2 separate regions of the Homo sapiens genome follow, and region 2 is linked to region 1. The links are contacts of gene promoters, found by promoter capture Hi-C in blood cells and fetal thymus (Javierre and others, 2016). All regions are on one chromosome and are shown on one strand. The core of a region is centred on a gene start or on the middle of the fragment in contact, and the rest is flanking DNA. Distances in the headings are between cores, read along the strand shown.

Region 1 (7,897 bases), core at 3,617-6,116:
GAAAATTGGATATGTTATTCATCAATTATTTTAGACCAGTAGTTCTCAGCCCTGGCTGTATATCAGCATCACTTTAAATGCCCACTCAGCCTCCCAAAGTGCTAGGGTTACAGGAGTGAGCCACCATGCCCGGCCCTTGCCACAGCATTTAAAACATGGGAAAAGGAACAGATAGTGTGGCAACTAAAACATATATAACTTCGGCCGGGCACAGTGGCTCATGCCTGTAATCCCAGTACTTTGGGAGGCCGAAGTGGGTGGGTGGATCACTTGAGGTCAGGAGTTTGAGACCAGCCTGGCCAACATGGCGAAACCCCATCTCTACTAAAAATACAAAAATTAGCCAAGTGTGATGGTGCACACCTGTAATGCTAGCTACTCAGAAGGCTGAGGCAGGAGAATTGCTTGAACCTGGGAGGCGGAGGCTGCAGTGAGCTGAGATTGTGCCACAGCACTCCAGCCTGGGTGACATAGTGAGACTCTGACACACACACACACACACCCCAAAACTTCAACTCCAGCGAGGACAGGAAGACAAACTATGATACTGGACTGAAAAAAACCTGGATTCTAATCTGGGTTCCAACTAGTAATGGTGTAGTCTTAAGTAACTTGCTTATTTTCTCTGCGCCTTCAATGAGGTTTTCTACCTCTATTCATCTCATACTGTGGGGACAGACGAAAGAAGGAAGAAAGGATAGAAGGAGGGAGGGAGGGAAAAGAAACCTATTTAAAGCCCCCTTTGAGAACTTTAAAGCGTCTAAGAGAAGCAGAGTATTATAATCAGAAATCAAATCTGGGTATCACTTTTTTCTCCTTAGTTTTATCATGTTAGCTACACTAATTAAAAAGGGCGGAGCCTGCTCAGAAAAGACAGATATGACGAAGTAAGATTTGGAAATAAGTAGGTTGAAAAGGAACCAAGATCTTAATGAGGAAGTGGCCACAGTCCCGCTTACCCCCTCTTGTTTCTCTGTACTGGCACGTGGCTTTACCTCTAGAGGCTTTGCTTCCTACAGAGCTGTTTTAAGAACATAGAGTAGAATGACTTATTCCCAAAGGAGTTTTCTTAGAGCCTAGTTACAAGAGGTTGGGGTCCTGGCCTTCTGTACTTTATAGTGAGGTTCCAGCAAGACCAGCAGTCTGATCTCAGCCCACCCTGGACCTAGCTCTCTTCTACCTACAAACCAGTTCAGAAACTAAGTCCAGAGGGCTGGGCATGGTGGCTCATGCCTGTAATCCCAGCACTTTGGGAGGCCAAGGCGGGCAGATCACGAGGTCAGGGGTTCGAGACCAGCCTGGCCAACATGGTGAAGCCCCGCCTCTACTAAAGATACAAAAAATTAGCTGGGCACGGTGGCACGCGCCTGTAATCCCAGCTATTCAAGAAGCTGAGACAGGAGAATTGCTTTAACCTGGGAGGAGGAAGTTGCAGTGAGCTGAGATTGTGCCATTGCACTCCAGCCTGGGCGAGAGGGCGAGACTGCATCTCAAAAAAAAAAAAAAGAAACTAAGTACAACAAAAACTTTATTTGGGGCTGTTTGGAACCAGTCAACCTACTCCCAGTGCTTTGTATAGCAGGGACATGGGACAATTAACAGATACTATAGCTCAGGGAAAGATGGCTAAAAAAGTAGTAACTGCTTCCACGAACAAGTCCTTCACTTCTCAGTGTCCCAGTTTTCTCTTATCAAATGGGAAGAAGGCTTCAGGAAATTATACAGCACTTTTGAGACCACCCTATTTACCTAGCGTCATCAATAAACAACTATTAAGAGGTATTTGACTTTCAGCTTTATGCAAGTACTCCAACCATTATTCCAGGGGTAAACTGAAATTCAGAGGTGATCAATTTGATGATGAAGAAGCCAGTATCAGACCCCAAGTTTCCTGCTTATCTGCAAAACTACATTCTGACAGAGCTATTGTCCATGGGAAACAAAATCTGAAGACAGCAGGTTAGCCTTTAGATTACTACTTTTCCTGCCCTATGATTTTGATAGTTTTTAAAGCCACAGTGTCATGGAACCTTCTTTTGGAACACACAAAGTGTGAAAATAAACGGCCTGTCAGTTGAATTTAAGGAAAAAAAGTTTTAAAAAAGGATAAATAGAATGCTTCACTAATTCCTCTTGCAATTATTCAGCATTTTCTTTTTTTTTTTTTTTTTTTTTTTCAGACAGTGTCTCACTCTGTCACCTATACTGGAGTATGGTGGCACAATCTCAGCTCACTGCAACCTCCGCCTCCTGGGCTCAAGGGATTCTTCTGCTTCCGCCTCCCGAGAAGCTAGGACTACAGGCATGCCATAGCAGCCAGCCGGCTAATTTTTGTATTTTTAGTAGAGATGGGGGGGTTTCACCATGCTGGCAGATTGGTCTCAAACTCCTGACCTCAAGTGATCCACCCGCCTTGACCTCCTGAAGTGCTGGGATTACAGGCATGTGCCACTGCGCCCAGCCTATTTGGCATTTTCAGTGCCTTCTCTTCAGATAGTTCATTGCCTTTAGCCCATTTTGGTTCCAAAAAGTTCAGAGTGCAAGTGATAACTGGACACCATAGAATATGAGACTTTTTTCTCCTTAAAAAACAGTATAATAGGGTGGTTAAGAGTGCTGGCTCGGCTGGGTGCGGTGGCTCACGCCTGTAATCCCAGCATTTTGGGAGGCCAAGGTGGGTGGATCACTTGAGGTCAAGAGTTCGAGACCAGCCTGGCCAACATGGTGAAACACCATCTCTACTAAAAATACAAAAATTAGCTGGGCATGGTGGCAGGTGCATGTAATCCCAGCTACTCAAGAGGCTGAGGCAGGAGAATCACTTGAACCTAGAAGGCAGAGGTCACCGTGAGCCGAGATCGTGCCATTGCACTCCAGCCTGGGGGACAAGAGTGAAACTCCGTGTCAAAAAAAAAAGGTCTCTCAGCTTAGTGCTCGGGCCACCAGATCCTGGCATCATCACTTATTACCAGTATGATCTTGGGAAAGTTACTCAACTTCTTTAAGTTTTAGTTTCATCATTTATAAAGTGACAATAACAGTAAGACCTATTTTGTGGGGTTGTGGTTGGGGTTGTATGAGATGCACATGTAAAAAGCTTGGTATGCAGCATTTACTAAATGTTAGTTCTTATTAATTATCTTGCCTAGCTTGACAGACGGTTATCTGTAACTGCCTACATACAGTCCAATATAAGTGTCAAATCTCCTAAGCAGGACATGGATGTTACTTAGTATCTAGGGCACAGACAAATATCAATGTCCACAAACATGAATCCATCTCAACTCACACTGGCAGCCAATCTGATGAGTGGCGTTGAGCAGGCGAACACAGGGAGCTGTTTTATTTAAGGGGATATATATCTTCCTCTCCACTGAGTTTCCCCTGCACAAACCTGATCGGAAGATAAAAAGTGTTAGAAAAATTTGAGAGACACAGGTACTAGCTTCTATCGTGTCATTAACCTGAAGTATGGCTTGGGTAAATCATTTAATATCATACTTTCTAAAATGAGATTAAAGTCCATTCTTCTGATTTCTTGGGCACACACTTATCGTAACAGATACATGTTCTACATGGCACCCAGCTATGTGCCTCAAAGGGTTATTACAAAGTCCATGTAGCGCCATTGACAGTGACACTAAAAGAGAGAAAACTTGGTCAAAGGAAAGGTGTTTGACCTTAGATTTGCCAGATTCTGGTTGCACAGGTGATCACACTTCTGCTTGTATATCCTGTATGTATATTACTAATTGGTTAATACACAGGTGCTGGGCTAAGAAAACTTTCTGAGGCATTTTTCCAAGAGTGTGAACAGAATTGAGAGAAACCTTATGACATACACGGGTCAGTTAATTTAACATCAGCAGGTCATTTGTGTGCCCACAGTGTGGGGCAGCTGTAGTTTCTCCTTTGAGGATCCTTAAAAACAATGTGAATTGGGGGAAGGCACAGTCATAGTTATATACAGGCATTTGCATTTTAGGGCTTGACCAACTAAAAAGCCATGTATCAGTAAATGAACGCGTATCAGCAAACACTTAAGTACATTATAAATGCCAAAAGTTCCTTGAATTGTTACTTCAGGGTCTTCACAGTTAAGAGTACCCATATCCTACCTTATTCTTGCTTTACTGATTAAAAAAAAAAAAAAAAAAAAAACCTGAGGCAAGGCAGGGGGACACAGACTTAGGATGTAATCAACAGAGGAAGAAATAAGAAATCCACCTTTTAAGCGCCGCACAGCACCCACAGAACAAGATTGCTTTCGTCTCAAAAAGTCTAAACGCGAGGAAGAAAGCTAACTTTCACACCTGTTCCTTTCGACTGTGGGGTGGGTGGCTGGGGTTGTGGGAAAAACGAGACATCTGGACAAAGTGGGAGAGGGTCAGGCTCGAAGTCCAGGAAGAGGCCTAGAGAAGGGAGTGAAGCGACACGACGTGCTGCGGGGGAGAAGGGACCTTCAGGTCCAGGCAAAGGGGGAACTTCTGTCGTGGGAACGAAAAAGAAAGAGGATTTACAGGGTGGGGGGACAGAGGGGCAGCAGGAACCAGAAGGGAGACAGTGGCGGTCGCGGCGGGGCCGATCCGAGAGTTCCCCTTAGAGAACGGAGCTCACGGGCGGGGAGGCCTCACCTGCTAGTAGGACGCAGAAAGACAGAAGGCGAAGGAGACCCCGACTTCCCGGGTCAGCCCCAGAGCCACCCCCTGCCGTAGCCATCTTGCCTCTCTGCTGAGCGGAAGCCCCCGTTCGGCTCCTGTCTGTTAGCGGCCTCTCTAGGCTACCACTGACACCGTCTCTGTGGCCCGGAGCCTAAGAGACCGGAAGTTCGTGTTTCCAGGCGCTTCCGGAAACCGCGGGAGAGGGTCGCTGACGTGGAGGCGTCCGAAGGGCAGCAGGGTGTGTCGGGGCTCGGATTAAGACATCGGAGTCGGAGACCTGAGAGATGTTAACCAAATTCGAGACCAAGAGCGCGCGGGTCAAAGGTAGTGGAGAATAAAAGGGGGAACATGGAGGTTGGATGTCAGGAGCGGCGCTGACACCGGGGAAGAGAAAATGGGTAGAGGTGTTGGTCGAAATGGGCCCACCAGACGGACCCGGAGGAAGACGGAGGGTGGGAGAGAGGTTGGGCCTGGCTAGCGGTTCTCCAGTCCCCTCTTCTTTGGTGTGTCCTTGGGCTTCGATTTACCTATAAAGTGGCTCCCACACTGCAGGGGATTCCTTAGACCCCCTCCCTATTCTTTCTTCCCCCTTTCTCTCTTGGCTGTGCTCCCGATTTGTGTTGTTCTGCTCCAAAGGCCCTGTGATCTGTTGGCTTTTTGATGACTGTGTTATATGGAGTGGCCCTGGGAACTGAGTCTCGATCTCTGTTACTCGCACCCGAGTCAGTAGCCTTTTTGGAGACGAGTAGTGGCAACCTCACTTAAGGAGGCCTTGGCTGCAGCATCTCAACATCAGTGCCTCCATTCGGCTTTATTTACTACCCGGAAATAGTACTTGAGGCTTATAACCCCAATAAAGTCTCAACTTGATAGAGTTGCCAGATAAAATGCAGGATACCCAGTTAAATTTGAATTTCAGGTAAACAATGAATAGTTTTTTAGTCTGTCGTTGCTTACCAGAAGTTCAAATTTATCTGGAAATCTCGTATTTTTATTTGCTAAGTACGGCAGCTCTAGAGCTCGAGTGTGGGTCGTTGGGGGTGGAGGGCAAATACTGAGATCGCAGTATTAGCCTCAGAACGTTAGAATGTGAAAGTCAGAGAAGTAAGGTCTCCGAAGACCTGGAAAAAATAGTATCTAGAATATTTAGTGAGATGCAGCGTAACAAAGTGGTTAGGAACTTGGTCTTTGAAGTCAGATGGGCTTGCCTTGGAATCCTGAGACATCCACTAACAAGCTGTGACTTGGATGACTTACTTAATGTCTCTAAGTCTGTATTTCCTCATCTGTAAAATCGTCTTTTATAGAGAGTATTAAAATGAGAAAGTATATGGAGTGTATTTATTACAGCGCCTGGTGTAGACTCAGTAGCTCAAAAACTGGAGGTTGTTATCAATGTGTGAATATATTCTGAGCAGTTTCTAAGTCTCTTGGGAAACTTGACCTTGAAAGATGGGTACCATTAAGAATTTCTGAGACCTGTATAGGTGAAATGTGAAATGGGTCTTCATAATCTTTCAGTTTTCTTTTCTGCTCCTAATTTCTTGCTGGGCAGTACAGAAGGAAAAACAAAGATGTCATAATATTTGAGGGCAAACATCCATTGTTGAGTGTACTTATATATCATAATTAAAAAAAAGAACCTAATGGAAAAATAGACAATTTAGAAGAAAAATTGTAAATGTTCAATAAATAATTAAAATAGTTCCACCTCACTAGTAATGAAAGAAATGCAAGAAAAAAAAAGTTAAGTTACTTTTTTGGGGGGAGGGTCTTAGATTTATAAAACAAAACAACAAATAGCTGATAGCAGCCTGTGTGCAAAATGGGCACCTCCATAAACTTCATGAGACTGTATATTGATACAGTGTTTTTACATTTAAACTATATGTACTAAAATGTTAAGTGCACATATTCTATTCCTGAGCAATCTCACAGGTCTTTAGCCTAGGGCAGTAATAATGCAAATAGGCTAGATTATGTGTAGAAGTATCTTCAGTAGGCTCTTCTGATAGCCAAAAATTGGCGGACAAAATGCCTGTTAGAATAATATAAGTGTAGTACATTTGTCCCTTGTAGTTAAAAAGAATGAGGTTATGTTTATATGTACTTCCATGAGATCCATATTATATAGTTAAGTGAGGAAGAAGTTTGCAGAACAACATCATAACGTGATCCCCACTTTCATAAAATACTAAAGCCTATGTCTATGTGTAACTGCATTAAAAATCTGAAAGGATACACTTCAAACTGTTAGTAGTTGTTACCTCTGGGGACTTCCATTTCCAGTCATGATAGAATAACAAGAGCCAGATTTACCTTCCCACCTTAACTATACAACTGAACAAAATGTATGAAACAAAGGTTCATACATTGCTCACAGATGTTGGGCAACAGGCAGTGCAGGAAAATAATTCTCCAGAGAAGGCAAATAAACAAGGTGAGTCCTGTGATTGTCGTAGATTACTGCCTAGAGAGTTTTTAGGCTTCAGTGAAGAGGGGAATCCCTTGGTCTTTCTGAGGAGACATAAATTTAGAGTGTGGGGAAGCAAAGATGGCTAGATTTTGTTGGGCAAAATACCGGAGAAGAGGGGGCTGCAGAGAGAGAGCACTAGAGATCTGCAGGATGTCTTCTCAGGTCTTTGTTTGAGTACTGATCTGCATGTGAGAAAACTATTCAAAACCTGAAAAAGGACCACTGGAAAGGAGAAGGCAGAGCAATCCCCAGAGTTCACACTAGTGAACTGGGACTAGTTTGTGTTCCTACTTGCCAGAAAGGAAAGACTTCCTAATATTACAGGGCTTCAAATAGAGACCTCAGATGGCTATTGCTTTAATAGTGGTTCCAGATTAAGCCTAGAATGAAGGCTGCTGTAGCCCCTCTGTAATAAAACCTAAAAGCAAGCCTTGAAAGGATCAACTGATTCCAAGTAACTTAATTGTATCCTAGAGCAAAGCCCAAGAATATGTAAAGGAATATGACAAAAATCTAGTACCAAACATAAAATTCACGATGTCTGGCATCCAGTAAAAAATCATCAAGCATGTCGAATGAATGAACCTAGGATTAACCTTGATGTTTCTTTTTCTTATCAGAATTGACAGAAGGTGACATCATGGGGCTTAGTTAGCTCATTGTATCATTTTCTATTTTTTTCAGGGCTCAGCTTTCACCCCAAAAGACCTTGGATCCTGACTAGTTTACATAATGGGGTCATCCAGTTATGGGACTATCG
Region 2 (7,897 bases), core at 2,221-4,720, 1.4 Mb before region 1:
TAAATTCTGCAATTCTATATGACATAATTAAAATGTATTTATTTGTCAAAATCAACTCTGCATTTTCAGATAAATTCAGTTAATGTCAAATTGAGGCAACAAGTGCTAACCTCAAAAATTAAAAAAAAAAAAAAATCAAATTCCAGTGTTGAGAAATCAGGCTAAGGTAGGAGAGGACAGTGATTTAAGTGCTTAGGTTCTGGGCACGGGCTGCCTGAATTCAAATCCTGACCCTGCCATTTATAAACCATGTGATTTTGAATAGGTTATTTCTGGCTAAATCAGTTTCAAAAAGAAACAATAGTTTCTCAGGGATTGCTGGAAGTAAGGTAAAGCATACAATGCTAAAGTAAATGTCATCTAGAAAGCCCATTACACACTAGCAATTATTACTTACCTGGATACTTCTCTGTAACCTTTTGTAAACGATATTGCTTATAAATTGCACTAGAGGTATCCACTTCGTATCCCATTGCCTGGTATAATTTCAGTTGCCACTCAAACCCCTCATTCATCCTGTAATGATAAAGAAATATAAAGTTTCATTTTCTTAAAATTATATCACAAAAGCATAATTATTACTATAAAAAAAGAACCCACTTAGCCTCTGGTTTGAGAATCTGGAGCTTTTCATAGGCTTTTTCAAAGGGAAGTTGGTCAGTCTTCATGAGAAAAGCAGTTATTATGGCCACACTTCGACTGACTCCTGCATGACTGAAAAAGAGACCTTTAAAATAAAACAGCAAATAGCAACAATTAAAAAAAAAAACACACAAAGCCCAGCCCCCTATTAATAGTAAAGTTTAGGCCCACTTCATTTTTGCTTCTCAAATAAGCCCATTGCCTCTGAAATATTATCAAGGTACAAAATAATTATTCCTTTTTCCTTTTGAATTCTGAACCACGTGAATCTATTACCTATTCAAAAATAATAACAGTAATTTTTAAAATTTTTATAATGGCTCAGAACAAATCCAAACTCCTGGCTAGACACAGTGGCTTACCTACGCCTGAAATCCCAGCACTTTGGGAGGCGAGGTGAGAGGATTGGTTGAGTCCAAGAGTTGGAGACCAGCCTGGGCAACAAAGTGAGACCCCACCTCTACAAAAAATTAGCCGGATGTGGTGGGGTCTGTAGTCCCAGCTACTCTGGAGGCCGAGGCAGGAGGTTCACTTGAGCCTGGGAGGTTGAGACTGCAGTGAGCCGTAATTACGCTACTACACTGTAGCCTGGGTGACAGAGCAAGACCCTATATCAAAATAAAAATAAATAAAACAAAACAAAAACAAATCCAATCTCCTTTCATCTTAGCATTCAGGGACCTCAAAATCTGGTCCCAGACTTCTTTTGATTTCATCACTATCTTCTTTTATGTGCTCAATAAATTTAAACGATTATTATACTCCAATCCAACCAAGAACTGCTTAGGGATTCCCATTTTCTTTTTTTGGGGGGAGGGATGGAGTCTCGCTCTGTTGCCCAGGCTGGAGTGCTGTGGCATGACCTCGGCTCACTGCAACCTCCGCCTCCCAGGTTCAAGTGATTCTCCTGCCTCAGCCTCCCGAGTAGCTGGGACTACAGGCGAGAGCCACCACGCCCGGCTAATTTTTGTATTTTTGGTTTCACCATATTAGCCAGCCTGATCTCGAACTCCTCACCTTGTGATCCTCCTGCCTCCCAAAGTGCTGGGATTACAGGCGTGAGCCACCGCGCCCTGCGGGATTCCCATTTTCTTTTTGTCTTTGCTGCAACCATCTCCTCCCTAGGCAAAGCCCAGGGATCCTTTAGATCCAAACCAATTCATCTCTTCATCAACCACCCGCCACCCATCCCAAACAAAAACATTTAACCCTAAATCTTTGTAAATCCCGTTTACAAGACACCAAGCAACCTAATCTGCATTACAATAATCGGGGTGGGTGTCTAGCTTCTCCAACAGAGCTGTAAACTCCTTAGGGTGTAGGTAATTTGTCATTTATCAGATGACACCTCCCCCGCCCTCTGCTGCTGCAGGAAGAACCAACTAAAGCATGAATGAATGAAAGCCTGCACACACCAGGGGCCCGCCTCAACCCTCCTCCTCTCTTGGAAACACGCCTCCTGCGGGAGGCAGCGGGAGGAGGTTCACGCGGCATGACCGCGCTCTTGTCCTCCCGACGGCCTCGGAAGGTAAGGGGCGACGGGGGCCGGCTGGAAGCTTGGCGGGGCACGTCACCCACTGACCCGGCCACTCACCAGTGCACCAACACCGCACGGCCCTCAGCGCGGGCCTGACCGATGAAGGCCACGCACCGGTCCAGATGGCTGAGTAGGTCCGTCTCGGGTTTGTCCAGCGCTGGCACGAAGAGGCGCCATAGATCCTCGACCCCAGGCCCCGCCTTGAAGCTGGGCTCCTCCGAGTCCACTGTTAGCACGGCCGTGATGCCCGCTTCCCTCAGGTGATCTGGCTCCGCGACGGCCGCGGCCCCACCGAAATACAATCCTGGCTGCACTTCCAGCATCTGCCCGGCACAGCTGACTCTGCTGGCGCTGGGGTTGCTGAGCTCGCAGCCATCACTCGGGCCCGGAGCCTCCAACATGGCCGCGCCCAGAGACAAGGCGGCTTCCTGCCCTACCATCGAGTAGACTCCGGCTAGAACATCCTTCCCCTGGGACTCGCCAGCCTCGGCGGCTCTGCTGCTCCCTCGGAGGACCACGTCGGCCGCAGGAATCTGGACTTATCGCTGAGGGGCGGAGCTTCGGCCCCATTCAGCGCGGCCTTTCCACCCTTGTTCCCTCTGACCCCTACCCCCAAAGTTGATGGTGAAGGATAAGCTTCCCCAAATACAGGGTTTCTCGAGCTCTTAGTATTGAAATTTTCAGGAAAGAGACATCAGGAGCAGCTGAACTCAAATGTGAAATAAATGTCGCACCAGCTGAATCAGAAGCATCATTTTATGCATTTGAAGTAAAATTTTTTTCAATATTATGGAGCCATCTTTACTGTGCATTTCATGATTATTTTTCCTTTTTCTGCCCAATTTCATTATTGGGGTGTGAATCCTTGTTGATGTTTACTGTCTATTTATTTTGAAGATACTAATCCTATATTTTTGTAAGTCAATGTCCTCCGGCCAGGACTACAAGAAACCAACTTTAATTAAGCAAGTTGGTTTTATTACTCAGTCATGAGTTATGGAGAATTTCAGGGCATCTCAGCACGAGGATGTTAGGAAGATCCTCTACAGATTTTGGGCTTTTATTTGGGGATTTTGGAAAGGGTTGAAGGAAGCAGGCTTTGCTCCAGACTGAATGCTGCAGGAAGATACTCAGTACAGTGAGTATATTTTATATATCTTTTGTATAGGGAGGACAGGTGAGAGAGATACTAAAGCTGTAATTGGTCAAGAAGTAGCAGCTATAGTACTGGTATAAAGATAGATACATCGACGTGTCTCTATTCTGGAACAGAACAAACCCTTGCGTGTGGAGTCCTAATTAGGGAAAAGGAGTCAGGCTGGCTGGACGAAGGGAAGCAAAAGGAGAAAGCAGACAAGCCATAAGTCTGCCTTTCTTCGTGGTCCAGGACACATAGCCCTGCTGTGCAAATAACTCACAATCTGCCTGTGCCCAGCCATCACCAGACCCTCAGCTGATAGAAAAATGGAAGTTAGTTCACTGCAACCCTGGCATTATTAGTACTGCACAAAGCCCTCTTCCACCCACAACATAAGCACCATTCTACAAAATCCCCAGCAAGCCTTTGTTTCCTAGCAGTCAGCTTCTCTCTTGCTGACCTGCCTGTTGCACCCTTGCAATGTATTTTCATACTTTATCTAATAAACCTGCCTTTCTTTACCTACAACTGTGTTGGTAAATTCTTCCTACCACCCATGTCACCAGCCCAGAAAGCTGCTAATCACCTGCAACACTGCATATATGTTAGAATAATCTTCAAAAAGAGTGCCAAGACCACACAATGGAAAAAGGACAATCTCCTCAACAGTGTTGGGAAAAACTAGATATCCACATGCAAAAGAATGAAGATGGACCTTTACCTTGGACCATACACAAAAAATAACTCCAAATAGATTAAAGACCTAAAAATATAACATTCTTAGTAGAAAACATAGGGGGAAAGCTTCATGGCCTTGGATTTGATAAAAATGTTGAAACAGGTAAGGGTTAATGGTCTCATTGTCTAAGGTGTTATCCGAACTTGTCTAACGACCGAGAAAACTAAGGAGCATGGGCACAAAGAGTGAGGTTGAAGCAAAAGTTTAATAAGCAAAAGAAGAAAGCTCTCCACAGCAGAGAGGGGAGCCCAAGTGGGGTGCCATTTTTACAGCTGAATTCAAAACCTATTATAAGAAACTCCTCTCATCTCTATAGTTGTTTGAGTAACTTCTCTTATGAATAAATCTGTCTGTGCAACTTCCCTTATCTTCTGCCGATGTGGGTATGTCTCTAGGCAAGCACAAAGCGTGGGTTCTCTTGTTTGTATCACTGTAGGTTTGTTTTAGGTAAGCCCCCCTCCTTCCTGTGCAAGTTCCCACGGAGTCCACTGTGTATATACCTGAAAAGGGGAGGAAAGTTTTTCCTGGGAGCTCGCCAATTACACGAAGAATGAAAAGCGTCTGTGCTGGACCCTACCTGCTTATCTGTGCAGGTGCAGCCTGAGTTTTGCCTAAGCTGCTCTATTTTGTTTGTAGCTGTGATTTTTCAGGCAGACTGCTTCTCCAAGGGCTAGCCTTAGCTGTCTACCTAACTGATTTTTCCTTTTCTTCTCCCTCAATTTTTTGGATAAAATACCAAAAGCACAGGCAACAAAAGCGAAAATAGACAAATGGGACTATATCAAATTTTAAAGTGTCTGCATATCAAGCAAAACAGTCAATAGAGAGAAAAGGAATTTGTATGGAATGGGAAAAAATAATTGCAAAGCATATATCTGATACGTTAATATGCAGAACATATAAAAAACTCCTACAACTCGACAACAGAAAAACAAGTAACCCAATTTTCAAAAAACTGGGCAAACGACCTGAATAGACATTCCTCCAAAGAAGATATACAAGAGGCCAAAAAGCATAGGAAAAGATGCTCAAATTGCTAATCATTAGAGAAATGCAAATCAAAACTACAATAATAATATCATCTTACACCCATTAGGATGGCTAGTATTTTTTTCAAGCACAGAAAATAAGTGTTAGCAAGGATGTGGAAAAATTGGAACGCTTATGCATTGCTGAAGGGAATGTAAAATGGTGCACCCACCAGGGAAAACAGTACGGAGTTTCCTCAAACGATTAAAAATAGAATTACCACATGATCCAGCAATCTCACTTCTAGGTTATATAGCCAAAAGAATTGAAAGTGGGATCTCAAAGATATTTGCACACCCATATTTATGGCAACATTATTCACAATAGCAAAAAGGTAGAAGTAACCCAAATGTCCATCATGGATTAATGGATAAAGAAAATGTGGTATGGGCCGGGCGCGGTGGCTCACGTCTGTAATCCTAGCACTTTGGGAGGCCGAGGCAGGTGGATCACCTGAGGCCAGGAATTCAAGACCAGCTTGGCCAACATGGCAAAACCCTATCTCTACTAAAAATACAAAAATCAGCTGGGCATGGTGGTGGGTGCCTGTAATCCTAGGTACTCGGGAGGCTGAGGCAGGAGACTCGCTTGAACCCAGGAGACGGAGGTTGCAGTGAGCCAAGATCATGCCACTGCACTCCAGCCTAAGGGATGGAGCGAGACTCTGTCTCCAAAAAGGAAAGAAAGAAAGAAAGAGAGAGAGAGAGAGAAGGAAGGAAGGAAGGAAGGAAGGATGGAAGGAAGACGGAAGGAAGGAAGGAAGGAAAGAGAGAGAGAAAGAAAGAGAAAAAGAAAAGAAAGAAAGAAAGAAAAAGAGAAAGAAAGAAAGAAAGATGGTATATGCATATGATGAACTATTATTCAGCCATATAAAAAGAGGGAAATTCTGTCACATGCTACAACATAGATTATCTTTGAGGTCGGGCACGGTGGCTCATGCCTGTAATCCCAGCACTTTGTGGGGCTGAGGCTGGCAGATGACCTGAGGTCAGGAGTTTGAGACCAGCCGTGCCAACATGGCGAAAACCTGTCTCTACTAAAAATACAAAAAAAAAAAAAAAAAAAGGCGGGGCCCAGTGGCTCACACCTGTAATCCCAGCACTTTGGGAGGCCAAGGCAGGCAGATTACCTGAGGTCCGGAGTTCAAGACCAGCCTGGCCAACATGGTGAAACCCCATCTCTACTAAAAATACAAAAATTAGCCAGGCATGGTGGCAGGCGCCTGTAATCCCAGCTACTTGGGAGGGTGAGGCGGGAGAATCACTTGAACCCCCTTGAACTCATGCCACTGCACTCCAGCGTGGGCAACAGAGCGAGACTCCATCCTAAAAAACAAAAATGAAAACAAAACCTTAGCTGGGCATGGTGGTGCATGCCTGTAATCCAGCTACTCAGGAGGCTGAGGTAGGAGAATCCCTTGAACCCCGGAGGTGGAGGTTGCAGCGTGCCGAGATCGCATCACTGCACTCCAGCCTGGGTGACAGAGCAAGACTCCATCTCAACAACAATAAAAACTTTGAGGACATTATGCTAAGTAAAATAAGGCACGACTGTAGATGCTGAGGATATAAAGATGTATGACAGTCTTTGCCCTCAAGGAACTTGGTGAAATGCTGGAGTGAAAGTAAGTAAATAGCTAATTAGTGTTATAGTAGAGGCAAGGGCCGTGTACTAAGGGAGCACATGGAGGCATCCAATCCTAATGGAAGGAGGGTAATTAGGGATGGCCTCCCAGAGGAGGTGATGCTTGATCTGCATCTTGAAGGATGAGTGGGAATTTGTCAGGGAAAAAGGAGGGAGATGAGGAAAGAAGTTCTAACCGGAAGGACCAACATCTTCAAAGGCACAAAGGCCAGAAAGCCCCATCGAAGTGTAAATGTGTTGTTGGAAAAGGGAGAAAGAAGGATGATGCAGATGGTGTTCACAGTTGCTTTCAGGACACTGGAAAGATAGGCATGACCAGATCATAAGGGCAACGTATGCCTTGCTAAGAAGTTTTAAATTTTTCCTAAAGATCGTGCAAATGCTAAAGAAGTTTAAGCAGCAGAATAATGCCACTTGATTTGTATTTTAGAAAACAACCCTGACTACAGTGTGTGGAATAGGCTGGGAGGACAATTCTAGAGGCAGAGTCTGGTTAAGAATTAAGGCAATAATTGAGTCAAGGAATGAAGGGTGCTGGTAGAGGAAACACAGAGGAAGGGAATGTGTTTAAGAGCGATTAAAAAGGCAGAAGGGAGGAGGCTTAGAGACCAAATGGATATGAGAGAGGAAAGAGGGAGGAATAAGAGATAACTTTATTTCTAGTTTGAGTGATTGAGTGGATGATGATTTCATTCACCAAGATGGGGAACAAAGGAGGAGGGACAGTTTGGAGAAAAGTAAATGTCATCATTGGCTGGGCTGGCTGGAGACTGGGATATGACCCTCAGAAAAGAGATAAAAAAGAGATCCAATCATCATCATCATCATCATTTTTTTTTTTTCTTTTTGAGATGGAGTCTTGCTCTGTCGCCCAGGCTGGAGTGCAGTGGTGCGATCTCAGCACACTGCAACCTCCACCTCCTGGGTTCAAGCTATTTTCCTGCCTCAGCTATTCTTCTTCCTCAGTTCAAGATATTCTCAGCCTCCCAAGTAGCTGGGATTGCAGGTGCGCACAACCCTGCCTGGCTAATTTTTTTTTTTTTTTTTTTTTTTTGTATTTTTAGTAGAGACAGGGTTTCACTATGTTGGCCAGGCTGGTCTTGAACTCCTGACCTCAGGTGATCCACCTGCCTCGGCCTCCCAAAGTGCTGGGATACAGGTGTGAGCC

Evidence for each region. The method cuts DNA at HindIII sites, captures the fragments that hold promoters and counts their contacts. A CHiCAGO score of 5 or more calls a contact.
Region 2: a contact is called between a fragment that was not itself captured here and the fragment with the promoter of COPA in region 1, in 3 of 17 cell types (naive B cells, non-activated CD4 T cells and total CD4 T cells). The highest score is 5.5, in naive B cells.

What each region holds. Positions count from the first base shown.
Region 1 is chr1:160,340,219-160,348,115 of GRCh38, reverse strand. COPA (coat protein complex I subunit alpha) reads left to right here and starts at 4,866. Exons shown (of 33, transcript NM_004371.4): 1 at 4,866-4,985; 2 at 7,822-7,897. The coding sequence starts at 4,946. NCSTN (nicastrin) reads right to left here and starts at 4,733. Exons shown (of 17, transcript NM_015331.3): 1 at 4,635-4,733; 2 at 3,290-3,394. The coding sequence starts at 4,719. RefSeq lists enhancers at 1,249-1,298, 4,664-4,713, 3,986-4,933. The HindIII fragment of the contact is 9,711 bases long and covers 3,100-7,897 here.
Region 2 is chr1:161,744,485-161,752,381 of GRCh38, reverse strand. It overlaps DUSP12 (dual specificity phosphatase 12), which reads right to left and starts at 2,596. Exons shown (of 6, transcript NM_007240.3): 1 at 2,237-2,596; 2 at 601-714; 3 at 398-516; 4 at 1-14. The coding sequence starts at 2,580. RefSeq lists enhancers at 1,580-2,226, 2,288-2,797, 4,369-4,418, 4,519-4,598. The HindIII fragment of the contact is 1,306 bases long and covers 2,818-4,123 here.